2 separate regions of the Homo sapiens genome follow, and region 1 is linked to region 2. The links are contacts of gene promoters, found by promoter capture Hi-C in human tissues and cell types (Jung and others, 2019). All regions are on one chromosome and are shown on one strand. The core of a region is centred on a gene start or on the middle of the fragment in contact, and the rest is flanking DNA. Distances in the headings are between cores, read along the strand shown.

Evidence for each region. The method cuts DNA at HindIII sites, captures the fragments that hold promoters and counts their contacts. A contact is called where the count stands out against the background at its distance.
Region 1: a fragment that was not itself captured here is called in contact with the fragment with the promoter of CDC25C in region 2 in 1 of the 25 tissues and cell types used here (aorta).

Annotation. Positions count from the first base shown.
Region 1 is chr5:137,957,529-137,963,776 of GRCh38, forward strand. FAM13B (family with sequence similarity 13 member B) reads right to left here. Exons shown (of 24, transcript NM_001385994.1): 11 at 4,877-4,941; 12 at 2,638-2,686; 13 at 2,088-2,235. Among named protein-coding and RNA genes, the nearest start is that of PKD2L2, 71 kb to the left of the region's middle. The HindIII fragment of the contact is 3,541 bases long and covers 2,926-6,248 here.
Region 2 is chr5:138,330,387-138,336,921 of GRCh38, forward strand. It overlaps CDC25C (cell division cycle 25C), which reads right to left and starts at 1,418. Exons shown (of 14, transcript NM_001790.5): 1 at 1,209-1,418; 2 at 601-832. The coding sequence starts at 794. LOC100128966 (a long non-coding RNA gene) reads left to right here and starts at 1,719. Exons shown (of 4, transcript NR_146628.1): 1 at 1,719-1,799; 2 at 3,047-3,142; 3 at 4,999-5,099; 4 at 6,488-6,535. RefSeq lists enhancers at 576-1,529, 1,241-1,370, 1,381-1,430 and a silencer at 1,481-1,740. The HindIII fragment of the contact is 27,615 bases long and covers 1-6,535 here.

The sequences.
Region 1 (6,248 bases), core at 3,446-5,945, 370 kb before region 2:
AAACTCCGTCTCAAAAAAAAAAAAAAAAAAAAAAATTGGAGGAATATCCTAACTCCAATCAATGTTTGCATTAGTGACAAAGTTAGAAGAAACAACATGGTCTACAAACAGCCACTCTACAAAGCACATGCACAGTTCATGGCTGGGAAGTTCGCTCAGGTGTCTGTAACTGTCGGCTTTCTGAAAGTTGCGGACCCCTATTTCTGGAAGAACAAGTAGGGGACCTACATAGACTTGTTTAGGCTGTTGAACCAGGGCAGCTCAGGCACTGAAAATCAGGCATCAGCAGCCTACAGGTTACCTCCTTTATCTATACCAAGGTATAGGTGCTGGATTCTGACATGGAAAAAAAAGACAGTCCAGTATCAGGTTCTCTTTCAGGGAGACTCAAGAACGCTGACGCTAGACAGAGAAGGTCTATCCTCTTCAGACAATGAAAAACAATTATTCTTCTATGTTTAAAATTTAATCAGGACTCCCAGGCCAAAGATCATAAAGAACTATTTATCTGCATCTTCTAATAGGAAGAAACAAAAGTGCTTTATCAGAATCCAAGCTGCTTCCTTTGAAGACTCATTTCCTAGCAATGCTGCAAGGGATGCTCTGTCGACCACCATTCCTTTTATTTCAGCCACAATAAATAACAAAAAAGAACATTTAATCTTCAACTGCCACCAGTATGCTAACATATCCCCCAACACTGGGAAGCATCTTCATAAATTCCAGATGTCCTGAATAACCCAGAACAAAGCAAATTAAAGACAACTTTCTAATTTAGTCTAAGTTAAAACAGATAATATGCCACTGGGCATGCCAAACATCTAGACCTATATAAAAAGGAGGGTGGGGAGGAGATGGCAATAAAAATTGGCACAGACAATGACTTGGTTGGGGCTCTTAAAAAAAAATGCCTAGACCTTAAAAAAAAAAACAAGACCCACACACACTCCATTTGCGATCAGGTGAGTACACTTAAACAGTGCCAAAAGGAGTCCGTGGCACTGGCATTAGAATTCCTGTTATTGCCAGTGTATGTCAACAGATACTTGCCAAAGGTGAGACAACCCAGGGATCTTCATCCAAGTGAATGAATATGTAACTATCCTTAAGATTCTTGAGTTATCTCATTGTCTCTTTACCAAAGTGTATGATCCAGAAAAACTCCTAGATCCAAATTTATTGCTTGATTCCCACCCCCACTCAACATTTTATTTGAAAGTTTACAAATACATAGCAAAATTGAAAGAACTTTACACTGAATATCCATATACCAATCACAATCTACCATTAACATTCTACTATACTTGCTTTATAACATTTATCCATCCCATTAACCATCTTATTTTTTTCATGGATTTCAGAGTAAACTGCAGGTATCAGTAAATTTCCCCATAAACACTCCAGCATGCAAATCATCCACTGAAGTTCAGCATTTGTTTACAGTTTTTTATCCTCTTGAAGTAAAAAGAGAACTTTATATACAAAGAAACACAAAAATCTATGTATTTGCTGAGTTTTGAGAAATGCATATACCCATGTTGTTTGCTTGTTAAATTTTAACTTCTCTCCTTTGTGCAAATTTTTAGAGTCCCCTGCACCATACCTTCATAACCTAAGACAGAAATACAGGAATATGGTACAATATTTGTTTAGAAGTACCCTTGAAGGTCATTTTTCAAAAAAGTACTACTGATGATACTAAGGACAAGGTAATTATACACGCTCTGCTTAAACTGGTGAGATCCCTAAGCCTTAACATACTGGGCTTCCAAAGACTAGGAGATAGCACCTGATTTAAATATTAACAAAAACGTATGCTGGGTGACTTTTTAAAAAAATCAGTTCTAACATCCATTTTCAAAGCTGTTGATGGATCAGACAAGAACTTCTAGTTCATATGAGATGCTGCCCCAAAATCTCAGTGTGTTTCACTAAAAACACCCACTTGTTCATCTTACATGAAAGGGAGAACAGAAGATCAAGATGAATAAGGTTATCCAGAAAAGGGCTGTAGTCTTATCATTGCTTAGGGTAATTTCGGTTACAAGTAACATTATCAGGAAAATAATGCGTGTGGGTAAAATTACCTTCCCATTTATCACCATCAGAAACATTCTTCAGATCTAAATGTGGAATACTGACACACGCTGCTTCCCCTTGAACACCAACACTCTGACCTCCTGGTACTTCTGATTCAGTGTTGGCATTCAAATCACATATCTTGCTACTAGAATCCTGTATTTTAAAATAAAGAATATATTTCACAACTACGGAAGCTTTTCACACCCAGCTTAAACACATCCAGCACATATCCAAGTGTAGTCTTCATTAGTTTACTGTGCCTATACAGCCAACTGTCCCACTCCCACTGTGCAAACTATTTTCAAATATAAACATGCAGTTTTAGAATATGTCTTATTGGAAGACAAGTTTGGATCCCAAATTCAGGAAAGTGTTTTCACAACCAAGTCTCTTGTAACCAAAAGTGGCAAATTAAGTTGCTGTTTAACTGTAAAATATTTGGTAAGAGTATTTATATTTAAATCTTTAAACCTAGCTAACCCACATTAAAGACCAGACATAACAGTTTAAACCTAGGCAAGTTTTTAAAGACTAAGACAAAAAAATAGTTCTTACCAGAATCAAGTGTGACAATTTATCACTGTCAAATAACAAATATTCTTCCCTAAAAATACAAGTAAAGTTGTTAGTATATTAAGAATAAAAAGGCTACTATCATTATATATTTCTTACCTAGATTCCTCTACTCCATAACACAGTTAGCATTTACAATGTGCGAGGAGAAAATGCCAACTGGACACATGCCCATTCTTTGGAGCCCTATATCTGAAAAATCACACAATACTGAAAAGATCCACAGAATCACTTCGGGTTTAGAAAAATCAAGTAACAATCCCTACTCCACCCCACAAACCACAGCAAAAAAGAAAAACCTTTATAAAATGAAAACTAAAATCCACAGTAAGTAGAAACCCAAAAGAATGAATGTATAATAAAGATTTTATAAAATAAATGTTTTAACCAAATAAACAGCTCTATTCTCTCCATTCTTGAGACTTTCAAAGAAAACTTTTTAAAAAGGTATCACTATGTCTTTTACTTTAAACTTGACTGTATTCTATCACAAGGATACTACTTCCAATCAGAGAAGGTTACTACTTCCAAACCTTTCCCTCCTCAAAATATAACAGTAACATACTAAAAGGAAATTTTAAAAAATTTCAGTCCACCTTTTACTTCCCCAGAAAAACTAACCCTTATTTAGAACAAGTGTTATAGCAAGCTGTCGTAAGTGATCTGTACCTATTTTACCAGTCAAGAGAGCACCTGCTATTATACAGTAGATTATCAATATGCCTACTGGGGGAAAGTTCTTTTCCCCAAAGACACAGTGGCAATTTACAATGACACATCGAGATGTCACTTCTAACCGGCCATAACAGAGTATGCACTCAGGAGACATGCCTTGATCTAAATATTGCAAGTCATCTTCTCATACAGATAATTACCTTATTCTTGCTGAGAATAAGAAATGAACTAAATGCTCTGTTAAGCTTAAAGGCATTCCTTTGCTTAGAGTAGGAGCAAATGGTAGGATGAGTAATTACTACCTTAGCAGCCTAAAAGACCTAATCACCTACATTTGAGAAGCATGAATGTTAAACATACAAAATGTAATCCACCTAACCAAGGTACTCTGGATCTAAAAACCAGTTTGCTAACTTATACACAGTTGAAGTTGAAGAGGAGAGAGCTTTTTCCAAAAACAACAACAACAACAACAACAACAACAACAACAGAAGAGTCCTCACTAAATGGGTCCTTATTGTTCTACCAAATCCAGATGTCACTATTCTGGGGGTGCCTGTTAATGTTGTTAATTTTATATCTTCAGCCCATAGCTCCAATACTTCCTGGGCTGGAAGAGGATGATTCCTGCCTCCTGAAAGGAAGGACAAGGAACTGCTATAAGGAAATCTGTGGACCTTCAGAGTATGGGGAGGCTCCAGAGACGTGGCTCCAAAGAATTTGCTTACCCTTAAAGAACAGGCTTCCTACTTATAATTAAAAGAAACAATAGAATACAAATATGTCCTGGCCAACAGGCTGTCAGCAAATTAGTATACTGTCTGGGATCTCTCAATATTTACAATCTAGCCTGCAACTTCATTACTGAAGTGTTTTCAGAATCTCAAATCACCTTCCTAAGAAAGTTATACTTTTTGGCAGCATCTTGAAGACTGATGCAAAGGGTAACAAGAACCCAAATCTTACTCTGTGATTTAAAACATTCTAGAAAGCTTCTATTCAAAGAGGCTATCTATTGAGACTCTACATTAGTCGAAATACTCATTGCCTCCAGTATTTCTCTACCATTACAGCCAGCCAAAGAGGTTAAAAAAGCACCAGCTGCCTAAGAGTGTACTGAGACACACCAAGGATAAATTCAAAGAGGAAGAAAAACATCCTATACATATTTGTTGAATCAAATACAGTATCTCTCAGTTAGTTATACACAGTTACAAGATCATGAATTAACTCACTGACAGGTATACTCAGAATATCAGTAAATTCCCAATTGTTCCACAATCAACTGAAAGATTTAAATGTCTCCAAAAAGGCTGTTTTTCCCTCTGAATGTTTTCCAAGTTATAACTACTGTCTGAACCTGTACAAATCCAAACATTTATGGGTATTTAATATCCTTTATGCCTACCATTATAACAAGAAGGCTGTTTAAGATTATCTAAACTATATATTTATAATGGACATTCATCTAAAAAAATCACCTCAAAAATCTGTGAAGAGCTCCAATTCTCAAAATGATTAATTAGCAACAAGAAAAAATGCTTACCTCTCAAGACAGCCATCTTCACTATCACCACGGTCACTGCATGGCTCTAACAATATACCTACAGACTGACAAAAAGAACACTACCATGTATTAATGGAGCTCCCAATACTCAGATAAGAGAAGTTGCCAATCTAAATTAGGATATTAGAATACAGATTAGTCAAACACCCCTAATTAGCTATCATTTATAATAGTCTGTAGTACTTAGCATCTCTTTTTACAGAGAGTAATTTATCTTCCCTCAAAACCTGGGTCATATGAAGTATAGCAGGTACTCTGCATTTCTCTCTATTAGGTAATATGTATCACCACTACCATCCTTCTTCCTTAGAATTATCTCCTCCAAAATGATGGTCTTCTGATCCTGCTTGCCAACTGCTGCTTGCTTTATTTCTCCTCAGCTACAAAGATACAAGTTTGGTGACTTCTTGTAGGTAAGATAGGAGTCATAGAGGAGTTCACTAGATTCCTTTGTATATTTGAAGTAATAACTATTTTCCACAAAGAAAGTCCCCACATGAGAAAACTCTCCCATTTTCCAACGAGCTTAGTGACACCATCTCATCCCTATTCCCCCCCAAACTAAAAACCTACCAAGTCTAATACAAATACCCAGAGAATTACTACAAAATACATGAACGTTGTGGTGTTTTTGATGATCACCTTTCAAATCAACAAAAGGTTCCATACTTCCTAGACTCTCTGATTCTTCTTTAGAAAGTAAGTACCACTTGTCCAGCTTTGTTTAGCGTGAAAGAAGGTCCACAAGAATCTGCAAAAAAAGCTGTTAAAATACTAGTCCCTTTTCAAACTACACATCTGTGAGGCTGTCTCATATGCTTCAACAAAACAATGTAACAGCAACAGACTTAAATGCAGAAGCATATACAAGAATCCAGCTGTCTTCTGTAAGTCAAACAGGTATCAACAATATTTCTAGCTATGTAAAACAATGCCACTCCTCAAACTTAAAAAATTTTATGAAAACAGTTATCTATTGTGGAAAAGAGCAACCTTACTTATGTTACCATAAATGAGTTTGTTAAATTAATGTTTTTTAAATTTACCAGTTTTAATTCCTAATATGGTAAATCCTAACAGATATACCTATGTAAACAAAAGCTCTTTGGGATCTTCAATATTTTTAAGAGTATGAATGAGTCCCTGAGACCCAAAGTGTGAGAACCACTGATACAGAAATCAGACTTCGGTAACTTTTATGATCAATAACAGGTGTCCCCAACCCCTGGACCGGTACCGATCGCTAGCCTGTTAAGAACCAGGCCACACAGCAGGAGGTGAGCAGCTGGGGGAGTGGGGAGTGAGCACTATGGCATGAGCTCCGCGCCTCCAGTCATATGAGTGCTGGCAT
Region 2 (6,535 bases), core at 168-2,667:
ATATTAATACTAATAAAGTGACCGACTCGTAATGCAGCGGTTTTCAAAGACTTTTCCCAGTTATCACATCATTTGATTCTCACAAGATCCTAGTAAGATAGGAAGCGATTATTATTTCTTTGTCTTTTCTTTTCTTTTTGAGATAGAGTCTCACTCTGTTTCCCAGGCTGAAGTGCAGTGAGGCGATCTTGGCTAACTGCAGCCTCCACCTCCCGGGCTCAAGCAATCCTCCCACCTCAGCCTCCCGAGTTGCTGGGACTATAGGTGCACACCACCACACTCAGCTAACTTTTAATATTTTTTGTAGAGACGGCGTCTTGCCATGTTGCCCAGGCTGGTCTTGAACTCCTAGACTCAGGCGATCCGCCCTCCTTGGCCTCCCAAAGTGCGGAGATTACAGGCATGAGCCACCTCGCCTGGCTGAGATTATTTCTTGTCACAGAAAAGAAGGTGAGACTCAAAAGGGTTACACAGTCAAGGGCAGAGTTGAGACTTAAAGCCTGACCTTTGAGCCGGGATAATTGAAAACAAACCAACAAACAAACCCAACTGTTTGGAAATAGCAAAGGCAATACAGTGTAAAAATAAAAGTATATTTACCCAGACAAAATGCTTAGGTTTGCAGAATCACCAAGAAATTTGCCCACTGGAGTTCTAGGGACATCTGGACAGACGGTAAAGGAAGTGTCTCTCTCCAGGAGCAGGTTTAACATTTTCCTTTGATTAGACCTAAAACTGGGTCCTGAGCCAGAGCTTCCTTCCTCTCTTGTGGATGAGAAGAGTTCCGTAGACATGGTCTTCGAATTCTCACCAGGAGAAAAACAAAACCTAGCTAGGAGGAAAACGTCATCTAAATCGGTACATCACAGTTCCCTCAGCTTTCCTAAACTCCTCCACCCTTTCCAGCCAGGCGAATCAACACTGGAAGAGGGGCAACCCCGAAGGGTGATTCACAGCCTGGCTTAAGGTTAGAACCTGAATTCACCGACGAGAGGCAACCTTAGGACCTTAAAGATGGAATGAAGAGAGGATTTTGACTTGTTCCACGCCACACAGCTCGAGACTCCTGACTAGAAAGAACCCGGGTCTCGTAACTCGCGATAGTCCCCATTCGGCCCTCCCAACCTCTGTCTGTGGGGGCCCGACTGGACCCTAAGGGGGACAATGGGGTCTCCGTGATTCCGTGGCGGAGACGGCTGCGGACTTACCTCAAGCCTGGAGTCTGAGGCTTGCCTACAAGAGGAGAGAAAGTAGATAGGGATCGGACACAGGCGAAGACTTGAGCAGAATGAAAGGAAATCTAGGGGAAAGGAGGTAGTTAACTAGATTGCAGCTCTGCCTTCCGACTGGGTAGGCCAACGTCGGACTCAGAGTCTTCCCTGAGCAGAAGGCCAAAGTTACGGCCTCTGAGCAAGAATATCAACAGCCGCAGGCGTTGACCATTCAAACCTTCCGCCAGCCCAGTAACCTATCCCCGCTCGCCTCTAAGCTGCGTCAGCCAATCTCCGCGCGCGCGCCCAGGGCCTCATGGCCTATCGTTGGGCTCGCAGATCACCTGGGGGCGTGTGCTTGCTCTGGAAATGGTAAGACTTGCCCCGCCCCATAGCCAGAGCAGGATAGTGTTTGGCCCACCAGCGTTAGGCAGGCTGCGGGGTAAGCTCCGCCTCACGGGGAGCCTGGCGCATCATTGGCTCTCCCTCTCACCAATCTCCACACCCTTTCTGTTTTCCTCGTTCCCTCAGCCCCACGAACCCCGGGAGATTTAAACCGCGCCTTACTAGTGATGTCCATTCACTAGGGTAATACTAGGAGAGATTATTTTGGGTGGAGGGTGTTGTAAGCGTTTCATTTTCTTCGCTTCTTTCTCGTGCCGTTTTCGCGGACGTTTTCTTCTAAGTTTTGCTGGCCTTCCACGGGAGATGGAGCGTTTGCTGCCGGCGTGGCAAGTGTTGGGGCGAGACGGGTGTGTGTGTTTATGCTGAGAGGCATTAGCCCCTTCCAAGAGCTTTGTTTGGTGTTTCTTTTAGTGTGCAGCATCTCAGAGACTCTAGCTCACGTGGGTAAAAAGAAATTCCGTTGCAGGGAAAGTGGAGGAATTAAATCATCTTGGTATAATCCTTATCGCAATCCAGAGGACCTCAAAGATTGGTTATTAATGAAAATTTGAACATTGACGAGGTGATATTTATAAATTATTGGCCGGACGCGTTGGCCCACACCTGTAATCCCAGCACTTTGGGAGGCCGAGGCGGGCAGATTACATGAGGTCAGGGGTTCAAAACCAGCCTGGCCAACATGATGAAACCCCGTCTCTACTAAAAATACAAAATTTAGCCGGTTGTGGTGGCACACACCTGTAATCCCAGCTACTTGGGAGGCTGAGGCATGAGAACTGCTTGAACTCGGGAGACAGAGGTTGCGCCACTGCACTCCAGCCTGGGCATTAGAGTGAAACAAACAAAAAGACATTCCTAATGTTAGGGATTTGCTTTTAAATAATCCTGTGCTGGGGGAAGGTATTGATGATACAAGATTGACCCTGACTGTTGAGTGATGGGGGCAGGAGGGTCCATCATATCTGTGCTTCTCAAGGTTTAATTTGCACACTAACCACCTGAGGACCTGCTAAATGCAGATTCTGATTCGGGATGTCTGGGTTGCGGTTGCGGCCCAAGATTCTGCCCTTCTAACAAGCCCCCAGCTGATGGTGAGGTAGCTGGTCCTACGACCATACTTTGCGTGGTAAGGTATTACCCCATACTTCTTACTTCAATGTATATTTGAAAATTTCCATAATAAAAATGTTCAAAATAACCTTGGAAGCTCTTTAAGATGTAGGCTCCAAAAACGATAATTCGATAGGTCTAAAGTGGGGTCATTATCAAGGCCCCCAGGTGCTACCCATGCAGACGGCTTGCAGATCATGCTTTGAGAAACAAAAGTCAAAATGCAACTTGTGTCTGTTGTCAGGATCTTGGTGGTGGTAGTGGCTGAGAGGCACAGTGTAGCCAGCTGGTTTTTATCCTAATACCCTTTTCATCTGCAGAACCTGCTTCCCCAGAAAGGAGATGTGTGAAGATTCTTTGTCCTCTAGGATACAGACAGTGAGTGTAGGAGTTAGCACAGAACCTTGCTATGCCAGGTGAGTTTGAAAATCAGGCTGGGGATTAAGGGAGTGTGGGATGAGTTGTTATCTGCTTTGACGACTACAGTATAATCACACTTTGTGGGAAATTGTATACTTCCCTGCAGGTGGGAAGTAGAGACAAAGTTATTCTCTATTGGTGGCAAAAGCAGATAGATTATGGCAAGTGCACACCTGGCTACCAGTGCTTTCTGCACCAGGTCCTCAAGTAAGTGCAGTTGTGGGTGGTCACAACAAAGGTGTCAGCCAAGTGGCTTTAGTTCAATGTCAGGTGATGGAAATATACTAAAATCTGAGCACTCTGACAAAGTTGCAGCATTCCTAAAACAAATTCTCCAAAAATCTAGCCCCAAAAATAAGTTTCTGAGATTTCTCAAATGGAACTTATACACCTAGCTCTTAAGAGTATTTTTTTTTTTTTTAAGATGGAGTCTCGCTCTCTCCCGGGCTAGAGTACAGTGGCGCAATCTTGGCCCACTGCAACCTCTGCCTCCTGGGTTCAAGTTATTCTCCTGCCTCAGCCTCCCGAGTAGCTGGGACTACAGGTGCCCGCCACCACGCCTGGCTGATTTTTGTATTTTTAATAGAGGTGGGGTTTCACCATATTGTCCAGGCTGTTCTGGAACTCCTGACCTCAAATGATCCACCCACCTCGGCCTCCCAAAGTGCTGGGATTACAGGCATGAGCCACTGCGCCCGGCCGCCCTTAAGACTTTTTACAGATGCAGTGGTGCGCCTGTAGTCCCAGCTACTTGGGAGGATCACTTGAGCCCAGGAGTTTGAGGCCAGCCTGGGCAACATAGTGAGACTGTCTCCTAAAAACAACAACAAAAAAACTTTTTTTTTTTGAGACAGTTTCTTTCTTGTTGCCTAGGCTGGAGTGCAATGGCGCAATCTCAGCTCACTGCAACCTCTGTTCAAGTGATTCTCTTGCCTCAGCCTCCTGAGTAGCTGGGATTACAGGCATGCGCCACCACACCTGGCTAATTTTTGTATTTTTAGTTGAGACAGGGTTTCGCTGTGTTGGCCAGGCTGGTCTCAAACTCCTGACCTGAGGTAATCCACCCACCTCGGCCTCCCAAAGTGCTGGGATTACAGGTGTGAGCCACCATGCCCAGCCAACAAAACTCTTAAAAGCTCTACGTTTGTTAATGAGGTTGTTTTCCTAGCAAACATTTTCACTATCTCCTCATGATTCCAGCTGGCTTAGCTAATTGCAACATACTTAGCTAATTACATGTAAGTTTACATGCATACATACAAACTGTGAAATGGTAGAATTATTTTAAAGGGAAGTCAAATATTGTCTTTTATATCTTGATTTATGAGGGTGTTGGAATATATCTAAGTTATCCTTCCCAGAAGAAAGAATATTAGGGAGGTGGGAAGTTTGGTGTTTAATCTGATTTGAAGATTTACTTTTTCTGTTGGATTGAGGGCATTGATCCTATGTCATCCTTGGGGAATCCCTATCTAGGCTCCTGATTCACTGTGATAAGCAGTGAGCTGTGTTCCTTCACCTTGACCTCAGTCTGACTCATACATGTTGTTGCCAGGGCACAGTGACAGCCCGGGCTTCACCCTGAAACACCAAACAAGAACAGGAGGTACAGCCATCACTCCTGGGATGCCCAGATCAGGCAGTGGAGAAGAGCCCTGCATTCCTGGGATCCTCCCAGCCAGCCTCTGCAGGGCAGAGGGGCTGAGGGGTGTGTTTTCTATTCCTGGTTCTTTTTATGACTGGTAGGCTTAGCCCTACTTCTCCCCACTTTGCAGAGGTTTAGCTTTCACTGGGTGAAAAGGGAAGGTCTGAATCGAGTGCATGTTCCTCCAACTCGGCTGTTCCTTCCTAGGCAGGGAATGAAGAGTCTTAGAACCAATGGATTCCACTCCTTTGGATGACCTCCTGGATGACTGGCTCCAGGCCCTGGAGCCCTCAGAATATGGATGGAGAGTATCCTTTGCTGAAACCCACTGGAGCAGGGTCACAGATGGGGTTTGGCCCATGAGGGCATAATTAAGATGCAGTTCAAAGCAGTGGCTCAAGAACAAAAGACTAAAAAGGGGGCAGCAGGGAAAGAGCAGGACATGAGTAAAAAATCCTTGGGAACTAAAAGTGGAATAAGGAGATTTAATTATGGGTAGGAGTGTTGGGCTGCACTGGGAGGCCATTTTATAGATGACGAAAGGGGATGTAACCTTCCTTTGAAATGAGGCCTGAAACTTGACTTGCAGGGTTTTTTTTTTTGTTTTGTTTTTTTTGTTTTGTTTTGGGTCTCAGTTTCTTTCAATGTTTTGCAAATGAGCCAATGCCTACTTTTAACTCAACCATTTAATTCATAATAATTAAATTATTAATTTAATTAATAATAAAAAGGTGAACAGCTTAGTGGTGAAAAGCAAGGGCTTTTAGACTGCTTTTTGAGAGTACCTTTGCCTACCATGTGGGCAGTCACTTAACTTCTTGGGCTGTTTCATTTGTCAAAGAGAAGGTTTTGTTTCATTTGATGATTGTAAGAAAAAATGAGAATATATATCAAAGTATGTAGGTCAAGTGTGGTGGTTCACACCTGGAATCCCAGCACTTCGTTTTTTGTTCATTTGTTTTTTTTTTTTTTTGAGACAGAGTCTCATTCTGTTGCCCAGGCTGGAGTGCAGTGGCACAATCTCGGCTCACTGCAATCTCTGCCTCCCCGGTTCAAGCGATTCTCCTGCCTCAGCCTCCCGAGTAGCTGGGATTACAGATGGGCGCCACAATGCCCAGCTAATTTTTGTATTTTTTAGTAGAGACGGGGTTTCACTTTGTTGCCAGGCTGGTCTCGAACTCCTGACCTCAGGTGATCCGTCTGCCTCAGCCTCCCAAAGTGCTAGGATTACAGGTGTGAGACACCACGCCAATCCCAGCACTTTGTGAGGCCAAGATGGGAAGATTGTTTGAGGCCAGGAGTTTGAGACTACCCTGGGCAACATAGCAAGACGCCTCTCTCTACAAAAATAGAAATAAATATGCTGGGCATGGTGGCACACCCCTGTAGTTCTAGCTATTCAGGAGGCTGAGATGGAAAGGATTGCTTGAGCCCAGAAGTTCAAGGCTGCAGTGAGCTGTGATCGCCTCAGTGCACTCCAGCCTGAGCAACAGCAAGACCCTGTTTTTACAAAAAAAAAAAAATGTAGCATGGTGTCTGGTACATAAGAGCAATTATTGGAAACCATGTGTCCCCTACTTCATGGCCCCTAACTCTGCTCCTTTTGCCAAGGGGAAATAAGCAGTGCAAGGTAAATCTTTCCACCCCTATTTTCTCAGTTAGTACTGTACCTCATTTTTCCTCTACTCTTTTTCAGTTTGTAGACTTGGTGGCTCCTGCCTCCTCCCCTCCCTGGCTCAGTGAG